Linked DNA regions of Homo sapiens: region 2 is linked to region 1. Evidence: promoter capture Hi-C in human tissues and cell types (Jung and others, 2019). All regions are on one chromosome and are shown on one strand. The core of a region is centred on a gene start or on the middle of the fragment in contact, and the rest is flanking DNA. Distances in the headings are between cores, read along the strand shown.

The links. The method cuts DNA at HindIII sites, captures the fragments that hold promoters and counts their contacts. A contact is called where the count stands out against the background at its distance.
Region 2: a contact is called between a fragment that was not itself captured here and the fragment with the promoter of C2CD4C in region 1, in 4 of the 25 tissues and cell types used here (IMR-90 fibroblasts, dorsolateral prefrontal cortex, mesendoderm cells and 1 more).

Annotation. Positions count from the first base shown.
Region 1 is chr19:407,269-412,099 of GRCh38, forward strand. C2CD4C (C2 calcium dependent domain containing 4C) reads right to left here and starts at 1,879. Exons shown (of 2, transcript NM_001136263.2): 1 at 1,738-1,879; 2 at 1-1,133. The coding sequence starts at 1,093. LOC124904607 (proline-rich proteoglycan 2-like) reads right to left here. Exons shown (of 2, transcript XM_047439790.1): 2 at 2,254-4,292. The coding sequence starts at 4,188. The coding sequence ends at 3,025. RefSeq lists an enhancer at 1-622. The HindIII fragment of the contact is 18,208 bases long and covers 1-4,831 here.
Region 2 is chr19:513,105-517,935 of GRCh38, forward strand. The region is part of intron 1 of TPGS1 (tubulin polyglutamylase complex subunit 1); the gene reads left to right. Among named protein-coding and RNA genes, the nearest start is that of MADCAM1-AS1, 7.6 kb to the left of the region's middle. The HindIII fragment of the contact is 7,591 bases long and covers 1-4,831 here.

The sequences.
Region 1 (4,831 bases), core at 629-3,128:
TCTTCACGATGGTGCTGCGCTGCTTCTGCAGCTTGCCCGGCACCAGGCACAGGCCCACGCAGCAGTTGATGCTGCGGGCGTCGCACAGGCGGTCGTAGAGGCCCTCGGCGGCCAGCAGGTGCACCCGCAGGCGGGCCTGGCCGGCCTCGTACTCGGCCAGCAGCCGCACGCTGCCCCGAGGGCCCACGTGGACCGTGTGCTCCCCACGCGCCTGGCCCGACTCGGGGCCAGGTTCCGGGGGTGCCCGGCGGGTCAGGCGGCGCCGGCTCCCGGGGCTGGCGTCCGGGGTGCTGTCGTCCGCAGACAGGGAGCCGTGGCGGCCCACGGAGTGCCGGAGCTGGCTCACCTTGGCCTGGCTGTCCTGGGCGAAACCTTTGAGCAGAGACACGGAGCGGGACAGCAGAGGGGACCCGAAGGGGGAGGACTCGGCCGAGGACCCTGTGTCGCTCTCCCCGCCACTGAAGTAGCGGCCGGGGCTCATGAGGGCCCCGCCAGCCTCCCTGGGGCCCCCATCACCCCCGTTGGCCTTGGCAGCTGCCCGGCGGCGCCCGGCCCCTGGGGAGCCCACCTGGGCCAGAGCCCCGTGCTCACTGTGGAACAGAGACTCCTTGCGCCTCGTGTGGGGGCTCTCAGCCAGCATGGCGAAGCCGTAGGACGTCTGGGCCTTGGGCACCGAGGGCAGGGACATGGCACCCTGGGCCTGGGGGTCGGCGTCAGTGGCCTCCTCGGACAGCCAGTCCTCGGCACTCTCGATCTGGATCACGTGCCGGGTGGCTGCCTTCAGCAGGCTCTTGCTCTCGGCTGCCAGCTTGGCAGGCAGCCGGGGGCTCCGTGGGGTCTGGCGGGGGGCCGCAGAGGCCAGGTTCTGTTCCGACGTGGAGGGGCCCAGCGCGGCCTGTCCCTCGCCCTCCGCGGGGCCCGAGGGCAGCTTGGGGGGGATGAAAAAGTCGGGGATCTTGTCGGGCGTCAACACATTGCTGTACAGGGGCCCCTTGGAGGCCTTGTCCCCCGCCTCACTCCCCACGCCCCGGGCAGCACCGTTTTCCCCAGACCCCCGAAGCCGCTCCAAGAACCACATGTTGGTTTTTCTCATGGGGGCGGCAGGCAAGAGGCCCGGACAGGGGCTGCAGCGTCTGGGAAGAGAAGCAGGGGTCAGGAGCAGTGGGGGGCGGCTGGCAGAGGGCCCTGGGCACCTGCTCCCTGTGGGGCCTCCCGGCAGGGCCCTGCCGGCGGGGTGGGGGTGGAGGGGTCCCCTGGGGGCGTCCCGCCCAGGCGCGGCGGCCCAGGACAGGAGTGAGGCGGGTTCCCCCCACCTTTTTCCGGAGAGATCCCGCTTAACTTCCCAGCACCAAGCCCAGGGGCGTGGGGGCCGCGCTCTGACTCTCCGGGGAGCTCCCAGAGGAGACTGGCCCCTCGCCCGCCCCCACTCTGGTTTTGAGCATCTCAGCGCTCATTCCAAAGGGTTCCGCGCTCAGTCCCAGGGGAAGACACGGATGTGGGTGGACCCCCGGGGTGTCCCAGCTCCGCCCCCCCGGCTCCCACCCACCTGTGGCTCCTCCCTGGACCGGAGGGCCAGGCGTTCGGGGTGGGGGAAGGGAGGGGCGGTAGGTCTGGGGCCGAGAGAGCAGCGAGTCGACTCCCCGGTGTCCCCCCGCCCCCAGCCCTCCCCGACTCCGCTTGGGGTGGGGGGTGGGGTCCCGGCGGTCCCCGCAGACCGGGCGGGGTCCCCGGACTTACCTGCCCGGGGTGATGGCCCGAGGCCGGAGGTCTGTTCGCAGACACGCAGGGGTCTCGGCGCGCAGGCTCCCGGGGCTGGCGCGGGGGACGCGGCCGGAGCTTCGATGCGGGCGGCGGCGGCGGCGGCAGCGCAGTCGGACTCATTCACCCGCGGCGGGAAACCGCCCAGCCCCGCCGCCGCCGCCGCCGTATTCCTCCGAGTACGGCCGCCCGCGCCCGCGCCCGCGCCCCCGCCCCCGCGGGAAGGGGGTGGGGCCGTCTCCCCGCAGCCCCCGGAGGCTGGTGGCAGGGAGGAGCCTCGCCAGGGCCCGGGGGCTGACTGGGGGCCGGTGGGAGACAAGCAGGTGGTCACGGTTGGCTGACGGCCACCCCCGGCGCTCACGCCCGCAGATTCCGGGAAGTCGGACTCCCAAGCCCCTGCCTCCGTATACCGGAAGAGGGTCCCAGACCCCCTACTCGCTGCCGGCGAGGAGCTTTCCCGACTAACGACGACGAATTAAATGACGGCAACAGTAATAAATGCAGCTGGGTTTATGATGGAGCGTTTCCTCCCTGCCAGCCTCCCAGCGTCCTGGCGGGTCTCTGACTCTCACACAACCCAGTACGCAGGTCCTACTGCAATTCTCAATCTGTAGATGAGGAAGGTGGGGGGTTTCCTTCCAGAAACAAGGACCGAACAGCTAGGACAGCAGGTCTTACTAAATGGGCAACCTCTCAGCAGCCCTACAAGAAGCCTGGAAGGGGGGGGCTCCTTCATTTCATGGACAAACGTTTCCTGAGCACCCGCTTGATGCTGGACAGTGACCTGGCCACCGGGGACACAGCTGGGACGGAGGGAGGTGGCCCCAGCCCTGGTGATGCAGGGGCAGGATGCCCACAGAGCGTACAGGTGCAGCTTAGAACTGCAGGGGTGGTGACGCCCGGAACAGGAATACAGCAGGAAAGCGTGAGGGTCGGGGCGAAGAGAGAAGGCACATGCGTGTGATTCACGGATGGAGAAACCCATAGGGGGCAAGACCAGGTCCAAACCCAGGCTTCCTGGCAGTTCCTGAGACCACAGGGTCCCCCCCTCCTGAGGCCCCGACCCCCCTCCTGCCAGCTGCTTCGTGATCTGCCAGCCCCGGCCTTCACTGCTTCCTTCTCTCCCTCCCTCCCTGCCCTCCCCGCCTCAGTTTCCTCTTCTGGAACCGAGCTGAGCAGTTCCCAGCCTCCTCGTGCTTGGAGCCAGCAAGATAACATATCCCCAGGACCAACCCGGAGCCGGCGGACGCCTGGCGCTTTATTGAATTATTGATTGTCCAGGAGCCTCCTGCATTCTGGGAATGTCCCCAAGTCTGGATGTGGCCCAAGCTGGGAGGAGCGGCTGCTGCCACAGTGGTAGAAGAGGGGTCCAGGAGGGCGAGAGAGCTGGGCTGAGGCCTCCCCACTCTCCACGTACCCTTGCAATAAGGGGTTAGAGTCCTGCCGTCCAGAGGGGAAAGTGAAACCCGGAGGAGCTGTGACCCCATCTAAGCTTTGCTCACCCAGCAAACGTTGATGAGCCCTCATTTTTGTGCTGGGGCAACCGCGACGCAGCCCCGAAGTCTGACAAGGAGGCAGACACCGAGGAATTCTCCCCTTCACCGCCGCCGCCTCCAGGAAGCCTGGGCAGGCCCCACCACAGACTAGCAGGGCCCCCGAACCCCAGCTCCAGCTGCCATGCAGAATACCCTTGGGCTGCTGTCCACCACCCCTGCTGGGCCTGAGGCGGGAGGAGGGTCCTGGGGGTCTGTCCACTGCCCCTGCTGGGCCCGGATCCTGGGGATCTGTCCACCGCCCCTGCTGGGCACGGATCCTGGGGGTCTGTCCACCGTCACTGCTGGGCCCGGATCCTGGGGGTCTGTCCACCGCCCCTGCTGGGCCCGGATCCTGGGGGTCTGTCCACCGCCCCTGCTGGGCCCGGATCCTGGGGGTCTGTCCACCGCCCCTGCTGGGCCCGGATCCTGGGGGTCTGTCCACCGCCCCTGCTGGGCCCGGATCCTGGGGGTCTGTCCACCGCCCCTGCTGGGCCCGGATCCTGGGGGTCTGTCCACCGCCCCTGCTGGGCACGGATCCTGGGGGTCTGTCCACCGCCCCTGCTGGGCCCGGATCCTGGGGGTCTGTCCACCGCCCCTGCTGGGCCCGGATCCTGGGGGTCTGTCCACCGCCCCTGCTGGGCCCGGATCCTGGGGGTCTGTCCACCGTCTCTGCTGGGCCCGGATCCTGGGGGTCTGTCCACCGCCCCTGCTGGGCCCGGATCCTGGGGGTCTGTCCACCGTCTCTGCTGGGCCCGGATCCTGGGGGTCTGTCCACCGTCTCTGCTGGGCCCGAGCCGGGAGGAGGGTCCTGGAGGTCCTGTCCCTGTAGTGGCCCCAAGGCACAGGCCAGCCATGTCTCCAGTAAACATTTGCCAAACAAATGGGTGAATAGCATCGCCACGATGGCCCCGAAACAGTGCTCTTTCAGCAGGCCCGAGGAGAGGGGGCCTCAGGGGCCACAGAGCCACCCTCCTCCATTGCAGACAAGGACAGCAGGGCCTGGGGAGGGAAGCGGACAGCTTGGGTCCTAGGAAGGGGCAGTGACGGGTCTCCTGACATCAGGCCAGCCCCAGGTATTGGGGGTTCGCTCTCCGGCACCCCTGCCCAGCCCAGGTGGGGGCAGAGCCTCTCCTGCCAGCTGGGTTGGGGGATGAGGCACTGAGTTTACACTATGCCTGTCTCCATGCTAGGACACAAATCCAGAGCTGGTCAATCAGGGCTTGAATCCTGGTGCCAACCCTTCCCACTGTGTGACGCTGGACAAGCATCCAGACCTCTGTCTCTTCAGCAGCCCAGGGCACCACGGCTCTCGAGGGAGGGCTCAACAGATCACTATGTGCAAAGTGCCTACAGCACCCCACCATGTGTGCGAGGCAGGCGTCAGTCGCCCTCTCCCTCAGACGCTTCTGCAGGTCAGGAAGGGTCTCAACCAGGGGGGAGCTGGCCCAGACCTCAAAGTGCACCCCAGAGCCCTGACCCCACCACAGCCTGGCTTGGCCAGAAGCCCCACCCCATCCCCACATCCTATCACATTTGGG
Region 2 (4,831 bases), core at 330-2,829, 110 kb after region 1:
GGGTGTGATCTGTGAGGCGGCAGCAGCCTGCCCGGCCTCACAGCAGATCCTGATGAGAGGGGCCCCGGTGCGGCTCCTGCTGGGTCATGCGGAGAGGTCAGGCGTGATGGGAGCTCGGGCCGCCGCGCTGACACTGCGACTGCCCCCAGCGCATTTTGGGGATGACCTCATGGATGGTAAAAGCGCCCAGCGGATTATAAGGGCCAACAAATGGGGCCTTTACTACTTGGGAGGGAAAAGGAGCGTACAGCCAGATGGGCCTAGAGTTGAATTGCAGGTCGCTGCCCTCCTGCCTCTGGGCCTCAGTTTCCTCCTCCATAGCAGAGCTTTGACCCTCGAGCTCGCTGAGATGGCACGTCCATCCCTAAGCCCTGAACTGAGCAGCAGTGATGACCAGGGAGGCACGTGTTCACCAGGCACCCACCGTGCACCGGCCCAGCATTACTGAGCACCTACTGTGCACCCGCCCAGCATTTACTGAGCACCTACTGCATGCCGGCCCTGCATTACTGAACACCTACTGCACACCAGCCCAGCATTACTGAGCACCTACTGCATACTGGCCCTGCATTACTGAGTACCTACTGCACACCAGCCCAGCATTACTGAGTACCTACTGCACACCAGCCCAGCATTACTGAGTACCTACTGCACACCAGCCCAGCATTACTGAGTACCTACTGCACACCAGCCCCACATTTACTGAGCACCTACTGCACACTGGCCCCACATTTACTGAGCACCTATTGCATCCTGGCCCAGCATTTAGTGAGCACCCACTGCACACAACCCCAGCATTACTGAGCACCTACTGTGCACTAGTCCTGCATTACTGAGCACCTGCTGCACACCAACCTGCCCCGGCCCCACATTTACTGAGCACCTATTGCATGCTGGCCCAGCATTTACTGAGCACCCACTGTACACAGACCCAGCATTACTGAGCACCCACTGCACACTGGCCCCACATTTGCTGAGCACCTACTATGTACCAGCCCTGCATTCACTAAGCACCTACTGTACACCAGCCCTGTATTACTGAGCACCCACTGCACACTGACCCTACATTTACTGAGCACCTATTGCATGCTGGCCCAGCATTTACTTCACTCCCACTGCACACCGCCCCAGCATTACTGAGTACCTACCGTGTACTGGCCCTGCATTCACTGAGCACCTACTCTACACCGGCCCTGTATTACTGAGCACCCACTGCACACCGACCCCACGTTTACTAAGCACCTATTGCTTACTGGCCCAGCATTTACTGAGCACCCACTGCACACCGCCCCAGCATTACTGAGTACCTATTGCACACCAGCCCCACATTTACTGAGCACCTATTGCATTCTGGCCCAGCATCACTGAGCACCTACTGTGTACCAGCCCTGCATTACTGAGCACCTGCTGCACACCAACCCTGCATTTACTGAGCACCTACTGCATGCTGGCTTAGCACTTCCCCGGCACCTACCACAGGTGGCCCACAGAAAGGTGAAGTCGTGTGCCCAGGTCATGCCGGAGGGAAGGCTGCCCTCCTCACCATGAAGCTGAGCTCCCAGAAGGGAAAAGCGTAAGCCCTGAGGTTGGCCACTTCCTCTCTGGGACCCTTGGCCAGACCATGGGGCTGCCCTGAGCCTCAGTTTCCCTATATGTCCCAGAGGAAGTAACAGGCCACTAGCATGAGGCCTGGCCGGGAACTGATGGGGGGAGTGAGGCCAGGGGGTTAAGCAGCCCACCCAGGGTCCTGCAGCGGCCCCCACGCTGGCCACGGTGCTCCCTGGCCACTCCCTGGTGCCCTCCACGGGAGTGTGTGTCACACTACCAGCACACGAGTGGCACGTAGTAAGGCCTCAGGCTCCTCACTGGGGCAGGGAATCGAACCCACCCCAGAGCCGGCAGCAGGGCTGACAGCCTTCTTCTGTAAGGGGCCAGATAGTGAACATTTCAGCTTTGCGTGGCAGCCTCCATCCTGACATTCAGCTCTACGGTTCTGGTCGGAAGCTGCCACAGGCCACATGTCAGCGGACTGATGTGGTTATGTTCCGATAAAGCTTTATTTACAAAAGCAGGCAGCAGGTCGTATTTGACCCTCAGGCTGACTGTGGGGCCTTGCCTGTGGGATTGTGGGGAGAGAAATACCACCACTGGCCCCGAGCAGCAACTGTCACCTGTAATCCCAGCAGTTTGGGAGGCTGAGGCAGGAGGATCGCTTGAGCCCAGGAGGTGGAGGCTGCTGTGAGCCCTGATTGTACCACTGCTCTCCAGCCTGCACAACACAGTGAGACCCTGTCTCAAAAAAAAAAAAAAAAGAAAAAATGCAATGTCAGCTGTGTTAAATGTTCAGCACAGACTGGGCGCAGTGGCTCACACCTGTAATCCCAGCACTTTGGGAGGCCGAGGTGGGCGGACCACGAGGTCACTCGAGATCCAGACCATCCTGGCCGACATGGTGAAACCCCGTCTCTACTAAAAATACAAAAATTAGCTGGGTGTGGTAACACACGCCTGTAATCCCAGCAGCTCAGGAGGCTGAGGCAGGAGAATCGCTTGAACCCGGGAGGTGGAGGTTGCTGTGAGCTGAGATTGTGCCACTGCACTCCAGCCTGACAACAGAGTGAGACACTGTCTCAAAAAAAGAAAGAGGGCCGGGCGCGGTGGCTCACGCCTGTAATCCCAGCACTTTGGGAGGCCGAGGCGGGTGGATCACGAGGTCAGGAGATCGAGACCATCCCGGCTAAAACGGTGAAACCCCGTCTCTACTAAAAATACAAAAAATTAGCCGGGCATAGTGGCGGACGCCTGTAGTCCCAGCTACTTGGGAGGCTGAGGCAGGAGAATGGCGTGAACCCGGGAGGCGGAGCTTGCAGTGAGCCGAGATCCCGCCACTGCACTCCAGCCCGGGCGACAGAGCGAGACTCCGTCTCAAAAAAAAAAAAAAAAGGAAGAAAGAAAGAAAGAAAAGAAAAAAACAAATGTCAGTTGTGTTAAATGTTGGGCACAGTATTTGGCCACATGTAAACAGGCGCTGCTGCTGCAGGGAGGGAGACCAGAGGGTCCTGGTGTTGTGGGACAAAGAGTGGAGAGACCGAAAAAGGTTCAGGAGAGTTTATCAAGGTGATCACCGGCTCAGCTGGACATACATCCAGAAAGTCTGAGCCTCGAACAAAGGGCTTTTCCTATTTTTAAACATCGTAAGGCGGGAACTACGTGAGGCGGGAAGCAAGTTACAGAGGCGAGAAACAAAGGCAGTTAAGCATTACAGCATTTCTTTTTTCTTTTTCTTTTTTTTTTTTTTGAGACGGAGTCTCGCTCTGTCGCCCAGGCTGGAGTGCAGTGGCGCCATCTTGGCTCACCGCAACCTCCACCTCCCAGGTTCAAGCGATTCTCCTGCCTCAGACTCCCGAGTAGCTGGGACTACAGACGTGTACCACCACGTCCCGCTAATTTTTGTATTTTTAGTAGAGATGGGGTTTCACCATGTTGGCCAGGATGGCCTCAATCTCTTGACCTTGTGATCCTCCCACCTCGGCCTCCCAAAGTGCTGGGATTACAGGCGTGAGCCACCGTGCCTGGCCAACATTTCTCACATCTTGAGAAAAACATGTCTTACAACCTAAACTTATCGGTTTTGTGACCCTGCAGCCGTGCTAGGGAGGTAAGCAGGAACTCGCTGGGCCTGTAATAAACTGAGGAATGTGGAGTTGGAGAGTATAGATAAGGTCCACTGACTACAGAGAGAAGACAGGCTGTTAACATTCTCTTTTAACTTGAGTGTAAGGGTGGGGGTCACACTTTGCAGCAACTTTAAGAGGATTTTAAAATTTCTATGACTACTACTATTAGGTTAGAGCTGATTTCACTAATTCCTTCTTCACTGGGGCCAGATGCCCCAGACAGATGCCTGCCGTTGATTCAAGACATTTACTGAGCACCTACTGTGGGCAGGGCAGTGTTCTGGGCACCAGGGCTATAACCAAGACGAACTTCCGGCCCTGGAGGGCAGGTGCTCACACTGGTGGGAGACATGAAGCTCACAGGGATGTGGGACAGCGAGTGAGACAGGATGACCACTAGGAAGAAAACAGGAGGAAAGGAGTTAGGGGTCAGGGGAGGCGACATTTGAGGAGAGACCTGGAGGAGACCAGGGAGGAGGTGAGGGAGATCTGGGGGAAGGCAGTGTCACGGCCCTTGCAGAGGCCCTGAGGCCGGTCCAGTTGGAGCTGGGAAGCCAGGGCTGGATGGGAGCTGCGGGGAGGAGAGGCCTGAGCTGGGTGGAGGCTGGGAGGGGGGAGGCCAGGCTGGGTGGGGGCTGGGAGGGGGGAGGCCAGGCTGGGTGGGGGCTGGCCAGGCTGGGTGGGGGCTGGGAGGATGGAGGCCAGGATGGGTGGGGGCTGGAAGGGGGGAGGCCCAGGCTGGGGGGTGCTGGGAGGACGGAGGCCAGGCTGGGTGGGGGCTGGGAGGGGGGAGGCCAGGATGGGTGGGGGCTGGGAGGAGGGAGGCCAGGCTGGGTGGGGGCTAGAAGGGGGGAGACCCAGGCTGGGGGGTGCTGGGAGGACGGAGGCCAGGCTGGGTGGGGGCTGGGAGGGGGGAGGCCAGGCTGGGGGGTGCTGGGAGGAGGAGGCCGAGGCTGGGTAGGGGCTGGGACGGGGGAGGCCAGGCTGGGTGGAGGCGGGGATGAGGGAGACCCAGGTTGGGAGGAGGAGGCCGAGGCTGGGGGTGCTGGTGGGGAGGGGAGGCCCGGGCTGGGCGGTGCTGGGAGGAGGGAGGCCAGGCTGGGTGGGGGCTGGGAGGAGGAGGCCCAGGCTGGGTAGAGGCTGGGAGGAGGGAG